Linked DNA regions of Homo sapiens: all the other regions are linked to region 1. The links are contacts of gene promoters, found by promoter capture Hi-C in human tissues and cell types (Jung and others, 2019). All regions are on one chromosome and are shown on one strand. The core of a region is centred on a gene start or on the middle of the fragment in contact, and the rest is flanking DNA. Distances in the headings are between cores, read along the strand shown. Region 1 holds the start of PDE3A (phosphodiesterase 3A). Region 2 overlaps LOC101928387 (a long non-coding RNA gene). Region 3 has its middle 270 kb from the start of AEBP2.

Evidence for each region. Contacts are between HindIII fragments. The study calls those that stand out against the background at their distance.
Region 2: a fragment that was not itself captured here is called in contact with the fragment with the promoter of PDE3A in region 1 in 1 of the 25 tissues and cell types used here (aorta).
Region 3: a fragment that was not itself captured here is called in contact with the fragment with the promoter of PDE3A in region 1 in 2 of the 25 tissues and cell types used here (H1 embryonic stem cells and heart right ventricle).

Annotation. Positions count from the first base shown.
Region 1 is chr12:20,366,943-20,370,456 of GRCh38, reverse strand. It overlaps PDE3A (phosphodiesterase 3A), which reads right to left and starts at 1,920. Exons shown (of 16, transcript NM_000921.5): 1 at 213-1,920. The coding sequence starts at 1,172. It overlaps PDE3A-AS1 (PDE3A antisense RNA 1), which reads left to right and starts at 201. Exons shown (of 2, transcript NR_186033.1): 1 at 201-616. RefSeq lists a silencer at 588-882. The HindIII fragment of the contact is 7,833 bases long and covers 1-3,514 here.
Region 2 is chr12:19,651,903-19,655,416 of GRCh38, reverse strand. It overlaps LOC101928387 (a long non-coding RNA gene), which reads right to left. Exons shown (of 7, transcript XR_007063236.1): 5 at 3,394-3,514. Among named protein-coding and RNA genes, the nearest start is that of AEBP2, 210 kb to the right of the region's middle. The HindIII fragment of the contact is 3,329 bases long and covers 1-3,319 here.
Region 3 is chr12:19,705,369-19,708,882 of GRCh38, reverse strand. No RefSeq gene overlaps it. Among named protein-coding and RNA genes, the nearest start is that of AEBP2, 270 kb to the right of the region's middle. The HindIII fragment of the contact is 4,327 bases long and covers 1-3,514 here.

The DNA of each region.
Region 1 (3,514 bases), core at 671-3,170:
TAAAACTACTGTGTGAAAGAGAGGGCAAAAAAACAAAAAAAAAAAAACAAAAAAAACAAAAAAAAAACCTGCTAGTTTCTTAATTCTGAAGTTAGACCAGTTTTCTAGGCTATCTTCCCTTTAGTTCCCAGCGCTCGGATTCTCTCCACTCTGCGCCGGTTGCCAAGTGTTTCAAGTTTCCAAGAGCCGAGAGAGGAGTTGCCAGTGCTTACCTGTTCCCTCGGTATACAGGGCAGGGAGGTCCTCCGATGGGACTTGCTGCTGCAGCCGGACATCTCGGCGGACACGACGGAGCTGGACCGCCTCCTCCTCTTAAACACCGGGATATCTTCCTTGGTCCCAGCAATCAGCTGGGACCCCAAATGCTCCCTTGGAGCCGCCTCCGCGGACTGCGGCAAGATTTGTTCCACGTACCTGGCCAAGAGGATCCCCAGCACGCCGGCCAGGTACGCCAGGTAAGGTCTCCAGGCGACCTTGAACCTCTCTAAGGAAATGAGGGACACGGTCCTGACCGCGCTAGTCAAGGCGATCATGAGGACGCCCAGCCTCAGCCTCAGCACCAGCCATGTCGCGGCGGCCAAGCAGCTGAGCACCACCCCCGCGGCGGGGAGTGAGAGTAAGTGATCCTCCCCGACGCCCAGCCCAATCTGGACGAGCGCTTCCCCCCCGCAGCAGGCGGCCAGCAGCGCGACAGCCAGAGGCAGGCGCACCCCGGCGCGCAGGAGGTACAAGCCCATCCAGAAGAAGGCACACAGGAGACTGAAGAGCAGCGCCGAGGGCTGCAGCCAGGGGCTGAGCCGCGCACCGCCCCCGGGAGCACCTCCCCGAGGCCCCGGGAAGACGCCCCCTTCTGCTCCCGGGGCTGCTTCCTCCTCCTCCGCCGCCGCCGCCTCCTTACACTGCTCCAGGTCACAGCCGACCTCCCCGCGGACCAGCCTCACCAGCAGCGCCAGCAGAAAGGACAGGGAGCCCGCGCACAGCGCGGAGGAAAGTTTCCGAGAGCTCCGGAGCGGCTGCAGCACCAGGTCTCCCCAGCAGCCACGGCAGCCCGAGTCCCGCGGCGATGCGGGGTCCGCACGATGGTGGCAGTCCCGGCCCGCCGTGGGGGCTTGACTCACCCCACTGTGGACGGGCTTGTCCCTGACTCGTGCAGCGTCGCCGGGCACTGCCATGGTATAGGGTGCCCTCTTCACTGAATTCCCAGTGGCCCCCCGACGCCCCCGCCCCGACCCACGCGCGCGCGCGCACACACACACACACACACACGCACGCACGCTCTTCCCAATTCCACCCTCGGAATCCTTCTTCTCCCCAGGCCCACAATCCACTGAAAGTTTCAGCTTTCGAATAACTCCTGGAGAATGCTAGATGCTCCAATGAGACTTCTTCAAGTTAAAGGCTAGCACGCTCAAGTTGAAAACAAGCACGGGCAGAAACGATCAGGATTCCCCTTTTCTCTCTTTGAATATCTTTCACAGATTCTCTGCTCCACCCCCACCCCCGACTTATATCCTCCGGGGTCTCTTCCTACTTCAGGATTTCAAAAATTGCCCAATGCATCCCGCGCGCAGGAGCCGCTGACGCTGGAGGAGCCGGGGGCGCAGGGCGGGCTCCGGGCCATTCCGAGGCGCAGCTCGGCGCTGCGCTGCGCTGCAGCGCGCCGGGCCCGCGGCAGATGGAGGTCTCCCTTCTCCTCCTTCCTGCAGCTCTTTTTCTATCACTCTTTCTTTCTCCTCGGCCGATTCTCCCCGGCACGGCCCCAGGACGCGAATCGCCATTCCCTGGGGCAGAAAGCAAAGCCTCCCCCGCCTCTGTCAATCCAATTCATGGCAAAGGATGGAAAAAAAAAAATGGACAAGGGGCTGAGAAATAAGAAGTTGCTAAGTCCCGTCGGAGAGAGAGCCAGACCGAGAGACTAGCGGCAGCCGCAGAAGGGAGGGAGGGAGAAGGAGCGAGTAAGAGAGGAAGGGAGGGTGAGAAGAAAGGGAGGGTGAGAAGGGAGAAGGAGATTTGCTTTTTTTTTCCCTCCCCACTTCTATTTGATGCAAGGTTGGTGGTGATTTGCAGTTTTGCAAAGGGGAAACGAGTGGCGACGACTGCTTAAAATTGTATAAAACTGGCAACTGGAGTGATCGACAATTCCGCTTTCTTTCTTTAAGGCAACTCCCTAGGAAAGCTTTCTCAGCCGAGCTCCCGCCCCCTCCTGCGGAGGAGGCGCTACCCTCAGCTCGATTGCTCCTTTGCTGGGAAAGCGGCCGGTTCACCCTACAGGCTGGAGCAGGGGCTGCTGAGGCTGATCCACCGCGCAGCCCACCGCAGCCCCGGGGTGTGGGGGGCTGCGGCTAGCCCTGAGGCTGAGCTCCCTAGAACGTTGGAAGGAAAAAAAAAAAAAAAAGATTGTGTTTGCCTACTTGGCAGATGAGAGCCAACATACTTTCTACTGTCCCTGAAAATGACAGCCACTTCTACTGTCTGATTCAAAGATGTTCCCAAGTCAGGTACAACAGCAGTCCAATTTCAGGTGACAGTGTCATCCTTTGGTCGCTCCTGCTGGAAGGTCTGCTTTATGAGAACCCAAGCCTGGCCTGTTGGTTCAAATGATGGAAGAATCAGCCTTACCTAGACCACAATAGTATAAAAAGAAAGGAAGGAGAGGCAGCAGTCATTTAAATCCAGTGCATGAGTATTACACAATAGTTTTTGACTGTGGAAAGTAAAATTACATTGAGATTAAGTGACCGTATCCTCAAAAAAGGTTAACAAAGTTTAAAAGCCCAGATAGTTCATCAAAAAATAAAGAAAAATCTCAAGGGAGAGGTGAGGATAGGTGGGTTAACACTAGGAGAGATCTTAGAAGACTGTCTATGGCTGCAAAATACTACATCTTCGAGCAAAGCATATGAAAAAAATCAGGACCTTAGTTATTAATGAGTAAAGGTTCGTGTACTGCAGCAGTGTGATATTTGAGAAACTAAAAGAAAATTTTCAAGCTAACCTTTTTTTGGCAGATTATGAAAAAGAATTCAGTATCTGTTCAATGGACTTAAACTCTATTGATGTTCCCTGGGATCTAGTTGTCTTTTTAATATGATACTCCACTTTTAACATGGCTATCTTAGATGTCATTTGCCCTCACTAATAATAATCTTAATAATCCAATTTTGTCTTAATTATCTTGACATTCCAGGTTAAAGTGTATTTACAGCCTAGAGCATTTAGATAATTGATTCAATATGCCACTGTATTTTGTATGTAGACATGAAGCAATAAAAAAAGCCAAAAGGAGATCCTTGAGATAAAATTAATTTATGGGGACAGGGGGAGAAGATGACTTAAGTTTTAAACAGCTTCATGGGAAGCAGCCTGTTCTAGTAGAAGGCAGATATACTATAAAGGTATAGCTTCTCTCTGTCAGATGTCCAGAATTGTGCTACCACACAGGAGTATGAGTTGGGCAGCTAGTCAATGGCAGTGGGCACCATCTGTTTAATAATTAAGGAAACAGGAGCAGCAA
Region 2 (3,514 bases), core at 406-2,905, 710 kb after region 1:
ATTGCTAAGGAAAAAAAAAAAAAAACTCATTAGCTTTGACCTGAATAAGGATACACTCATACACTCAGGCCTAAGTGTCTGGTGTAGAAACAGTGCCACACTAACTTCAGTGAGAAAGAAAAGCACAAATACTACATTTCCAAATTTAGTCAACTAGGGACATTGAGTCAGGCCAATTTAAAACAGGTCCAAAATTTCATCATTCCAAGGAGTTGAGTATTGTCTCTTATCTACTAATCTAAAATTAAATTTCCCGTTTAGCTTTGACATAGAGACTATTTATAGACATTCAAAAAAAAGAAGAAAATCAAAAGGCTTAAACCCAGGTCATAGGTCCTAAAACCAAAAGCAGTGAGAAGAAAGTGACATCTAATGGTTGGTTTCCTTCAAAACATCTCTGGTTGCCCCCTAAAACTCAAGAGACAAGGAAAGGGAGATTTTGACCTTAGTCATTAGAAAAAGTCTCAAAAATCCTAAAAAGTCAAAAATGTCATCCAGCCCTCTGGGAAACCGGCTCAATGCATTCAAATTAATGTCGTGCTGGGCTGCAGAAACTTTTGACCAGAAGGCATTCCAAGGAGTAACCATAAACAGCTTAAATGATATTAGATGCGTCATAAGATCTTTTTTTACTCTTGTTAAAAATAACAATAACAAACACTTATGAAGTACAGACATGTGCCAAATCCTGGCCTAAGTGTCTCATATATACTAACTCATCTAAAGATATTTTTCCACAATATTTATACGCATGAATAAACAATAGATTCTACTAAAATTCTTAAGGCTAAAGTAGGAATGAATTAATGTTGTGAAAAGACAGGAATATTAAATGTATTTCATTACTTCTTAGAACAGAACTGCAAAAGAACTTGAGAGGTCATAGTTCAGGAGTTGTTGAAAAATCTATCCCATGAGAGAAAATGCAGCATTTTCACTTATTTTTATTTATTCCTTCATTCTTTCTATGCTGCTCTTTGCTTTCTTGTCTTCCATCTTGTGAAAATATTTATGACAAACTTTTTATCCTGTCATTGCATTTTGCTGGTACTTTTTAGGCTTAAAGGTGAACTCCTGAAGTTTATCTCCTTCCAGGCATCATCTCTTCAATTCTGGAAACAGTTACCAGATAAATGGTGGTAACTAGCTTAAGCGTCACAGGACAAACGGCCAGGCTAATATCAAGAGTAGGTATATGAATCACAGCTATGTTTCTGCTGCAGCAAAATGTCTTCAAATAAAAATTAGACCATAAGCATTAAACTGCCTACTAAAAGAAGATTTTTTTAAATATTATATGTTAACCACTCAACCAGTTAAATATCAAACAATATAAACTGCTCCTACATTTAAGTGTAGTTTCATTTTTCATACAAGTTATAGAAGTCATATGTATTCTTACCTACAGTTTTATCAGTCAATAAATTACATGTGTTCTCCTGCCTATACGTAAGTTCAGTCTGAGAGACAGCATCAGGGATTTTTTTATAATAACCATTCCTTTGCAATGAATAAAGACACTAATTTATCTCTTATGGACTCATAATTTGTTCTGAAGCATCTTCTGTTGTTATGTGGACCCTCTTCATGCTCCTTGAAGGCTGGAGGAGTGCAGTGATCCAGGGCTTCACTGGTCTCCTGCTTTTGGAGTTTATCTCTGCTATATGCAGAAGCTTTTATTCCCTTTTCCTTTTGTAATACTCAGAACAGAAAATGCATAGACTACCTACCCTTACCGAAATATATAAAACTCTTTGCTTATATTTCTTCAATCAAGAAGAGGTTCTGTTGAGAACCAAATTTCTACATGGCCCAATCTTCTTTCCTTCAACTTTAAAGATCATTTATAATGTATTTTACAAAGAACACATTAGGATTATCTATTAATCAAGCTGGTAATCTCCATTAGAGGAATTGATTATTTTGTACTCCTCAGAACAAAAGGAACACAAATTTCAGACATATAACCCAGAACAAGTATAAGGATTTAATCAGCCCACTGCTGAAAAGAAAAAGCCCTGGCCCGTATTATTTATTGGTGACTTCCAGGAGCATGGACATAAGATCTTTTTTTCTTTCTGTTTCTTAAAGAGGAAAATTGCAAAAGAAACAGGAAATCTATCCTTTTCTCTTAATGCCTCTTAAGAGGAAGAAATGTTTCAGTCACGTTTCTGACTGTGGAAAAAAATGATAAGTTACTGGTTAAAAAAAAAAAAATCAAAGATGAACTCCATAACATTCTCCTTTCCTTAGAGTCCTCAAACTCTCACACAGTCCAGGCCCCAGAACCCTGCCCTCAGTTTCTTCCCAAATAAAGTCCTCCTCAACCTTTTAGGAAGCTTCCCTCCCAGCCTCACTCCAGGCATTTTTCCAGTACCCAAGAGGCCCTGGCACATGTTGGGTTCTCAATACCTGTGCCCTAAGTTAATTAACTATAAAACGAGCATGGTTATAAGCTTATTTTCAACTCATCCACAGGTCAGTTTCTCTGGCCAGAGTCAGCCTGCAAATACAGTAATTTCAATTTCACAATTGTATTTCTAGAGCTGTTGAGGGGAAGCAATCATGTTAGGCCAAACTAGCAACTGAGCCAGGCCTTGTGTCAGAAAGATGGGGGCTGACAGTGGCTAAGGCAATTTCCTCCAAAACACTAGGTAGTTAGGTCAGGAGAAACTTAAATAAGGCAATAGCTCTTCTTGTCATCAGAGGCCTTGGTTTTCACATCTGTAAAACAAAATCCTTGGTCTAAATGACTTCTGACACACTGACTTAAATTTTGCCACAGAGTTCAAGCTAGAAACAAGAAAGTAGCTGTAAAAGCCAGGGCCCTTCATGGTATAGCTAAGAGAGAAATCTAATTCACCAAAAATTCAGAGAGGGGAGTGCTTCTCATGAGAAAAGAATGAGAGACTAATTCCCAAGGATTTTCTCTTCAAATAGCACGTCGTGGAGAAAGAAAGATAAATGGAGAAATGTGGCAGTAAAAAAATTCTGTAGATGAGAAAAAAGACAGGGAACTTCTTAGTACCTGCCCTAGTCGTAAATTGTCAATAGAGACATGCTTTTCAAACTATGGTAAACAACTTGTTTTGTTTTTTATTTCTAATTTTATTGTAAGCTGATCTCTGATCTTTGTTAAGTTAGAGAGAGACATCGTAACACTTCATCTCTAAAGTATGGAAAGAGAGCAAACACTATCTTGAAGGTAATAATTACAGAATTGCTTAGCCCTGGTCTAGCAGATTTTAAAATAAATTTTGCAGAAGTGCGTTAAAACGAGCACACCGTGAAGGGCCTACTTGCAAACTAACAAGTTACCCTGCTAGAGTTTATGGATGCTGGGAGAAGACGTGAGACTCCTGGATTACAGGCAAATGAGAGGCTATTACTCACCACAATAGTAGTAGCCACGGTATCAGCATCTGAGCCAATTCCTCCAAACCCCAGTACCCGCAAGGTGATGCAAATAGGGCTAGATAATACCAGCATCCACAGTCAATTGTGTTCCAGCAAA
Region 3 (3,514 bases), core at 497-2,996, 660 kb after region 1:
AACAAAGAGGACTTACACTTCTTAATTTCAAAACTTACTACAAAGATAAAGTAATCAGGACAATGTAGTACAAGACAGATATACAGATCAATGGGGTCCAGAAATAAACCCACTTCTAGCCTATTGATTTTTGGCAATGGTGCCAAGTCCATTCAATGGGGCAAAATTTGTGTCCTCAAGAAGTGGCGTTGGAACAACTGGAAAGCCTCATGCAAAAGAATAAAGTAGATCCCCTACACCATATACAAAAATTAACTCAAAATGGATCAAATACTTAAGTTTAAGAGCTAAAACTTTAAAAACCTTAAAAGAAAACATAGAGGTAAACATTCATAACCTTGGATTTGGCAATGGTTTCTTAAATATGGACCCAAAAGCATAACAAAAGAAAAATAGATAAATTAAACTTGATTAAAATTAAAAACATTTGTGCATCAAAGCACATTATCAAGAGAGCAAAAGGACAATTCACAGAATGAGAGAAAGTATTTGCAAATGAAATATCTGCCAAAGGTTTAATATCCAAAGAATGTCTACGACTCAACAACAAAACGACAACCCAAATAAAATATGAGCAAATGACTTGAATAGACATTTCTCTGAGGAAGATATATAAATAGACAATAAGCACATGTTACTCATCATTAGTCATTAGGGAAATGCAAATCGAAACTCTGATGTAATACTACTTCACATCCACTAGGATGGCTATGGTCAGAAAACAGACTATAACAAGTGTTGGCCATTACGTAGAAAGGTTGGAATGCTCTTATATTACTGTTGGGAATATAAAGTCATGCAATCACTTTAGAAAACATTCTAGCAGTTCCACAAAAAGTCAAACATGGAGTTACCATATGATCCAGCAATTCCGCTCCTATGTATATGCCCAAGAGAACTGAAAACACGTTCACCAAAACAAAAACAAAAACAAAACTTGCACATCACTGTTCATAACATTATCCATCACAGCCAAAAGGTGGAAACAACCCAAACATCCATCAACTGATGAATAAAATGTGGTATGTCCATAAAGTATAATATTATTCAATCATAAAAAATGAATAAGTATATTCATTTGACAGAATATATTCATTTGAGAGAATAAGTATATTCAAATGAGAGAAGCCAGCTGGACTTCCTGGGTCGAGTGCGGACTTGGAGAACTTTTCTGTCTAGCTGGAGGATTTTAAATGCACCTATCAGCACTCTGTGTCTAGCTAAAGGATTGTAAATGCACCAATCAGCACTCTGTAAAAACGCACCAATCAGCACTCTGCGTCTAGCTAGAGGATTGTAAATGGACCAATCAGCTCTCTGTAAAATGGACCAATCAGTAGGACGTGGGTGGGGACAAATAAAGGAATAAAAGCTGGCCACCCCAGCCAGCAGCGGCAACCTGCTTGGGTCCCCTTCCACACTGTGGAAGCTTTGTTCTTTCGCTCTTCACAATAAATCCTACTGCTGCTCATTCTTTGGATTCAAGCCACCTTTAAGAGCTGTGACAATCACCGCAAAGGTCTGCAGCTTCATTCTTGAAGTCAGCGAGACCAAGAACCCACCAGAAGGAACCAACTCTGGACACACTAATACATGGTTCATGGATGAAGCTTGAAATCATTATCCTCAGTGAAAGAAGCCAAACATAAAAGACCACGTATTTTATGAATACATGTATATGGAATGTCTAGAATAGGCAAACACATAGAGACAAAACTAGATTAGTGGTTTCCAGAGACTGGGAGGAGGAGAGAATTACTGATTGCTAATGGGCTCAGGATTTCTTTCTGGGGTAATGAAAATATTTTGGAAATAGTCATGATGGTTATACAACTTTGTGAATATACTAAACCACAGAATTGCATACTATAAAGGGTGGGTTTGTGACATATGAATTATACCTCAGTTTTGTCAAATTTGTGGTTTAGTGGGAAAAATAAACTAAGCGTGAAAGCCAGAGTCTCCTTGGCGCACATAAAGAAAATCTTTATGGGTACATGTGCAAGTTTGTTATATAGGTAAATTGGCTGTCAAGGAGGTTTGGTATACAGATTATTTGGTATACAGATTTCATCACCCAGGTAATAAGCACAGTACCTGACAGGTAAATTTTTTTTTCTATCATCACCCTCCTCCCATTTTTCACCCTCAGGTAGGCCCTGGTGTCTGTTGTTCCCATCTCTGTGTCCATGTGTACTCAATATTTAGCTCCCACTTATAAATGAGAACATGTAGTATTTGGTTTTCTGTTCCTGCATGAGTTCACTTACGATAATGGCCTCCAGCTCCCACTTATACTTGAGAACATGTGGTATTTCCTTTTCTGTTCCCACATTAGTTCACTTTGGATAATGGCCTCCAAATCCATCTATATTGCTACAAAGGACATGATCTCATTCTGTTTTATGGCTGTATAGTATTCCATTGTGCATATGTGTATATATGCCTGTGTACTATATCCATTACTGGGTATATACCCTTTTAAGCTCTTTGAGAAAGGCTTAACTGCTTTCTACAATAAGTGAACTACTAATAATTTACTTTCCCACCAGCAGTGTATAAGCATTCCCTTTTCTCTACAACCTCACCAGCATCTGTTATTTTTTCACTTTTTAATAACAGCCATTCTCACTGGTATGTGACAGTATCTCATTGTGGTTTTGATTTGCATTTTTCTAATGATTAGTGATGTTGAGGGTTTTTTCACATGCTTGTTGACCGCATGTATGTCTTCTTTTGAAAAGTGTCTGTTCATGTCTTTGTCTACTTTTCAACAGGGTTGTTTTTTGCTTGCAAATTTGTTTAAGTTTCTTATAGATTCTGGATTTTAACCTTTGTTGAATGTGTAGTTTCCAAATATTTTCTCCCATTCCGTAGGTTGTCTGTTTATTCTGTTGATAGGTTTTGTTTGTTTTTGTTTTGGTTTTGCTGTGCAGAAGTACTTTGGTTTGTTAGGTCCCACTTGTCAATTTTTGTTTTTGTTGTAATTATTTTTACCATCTTCATCTCTTCATCATGAAATCTTTGCCAGGATCTGTGTCCAGAATGGTATTTCCTAAGTTTTCTTCTAGGATTTTTAGTTTTAGATTTTACATTAAGTCTTTAACAAATCTCAAGTCGATTTTTGTATATGGTATACAAGAAAGGAGTCCAGTTTCAATCTTCTGCATATGGCTAGCCAGTTTCCCCAGTACCATTTATTGAATACAGAGTCCTTCTCCATTGCTTGTTTCTGTAGACTTTGTCAAAGATCAGATGTTTGAAGGTGTGTACCTCTATTTCTGGGCTTTCTATTCTATTCCATTGTTCTGTGTGTCTATTTTTGTACCAGTACCATGCTATTTTGGTTACTGCAGCCTTGTAGTATCATTTCATGTTGGGTAGTGTGATGTCTCCAGCTTTGTTCTTTTTGCTTAGGATTGCTTTGGCTATTCAGGCTCTTTTTTGGTTCCATATTAATTTTAAAATAGTTTTTTTCTAATTCTGTGAAGAATGTCATTGGTAGTTTGATAGG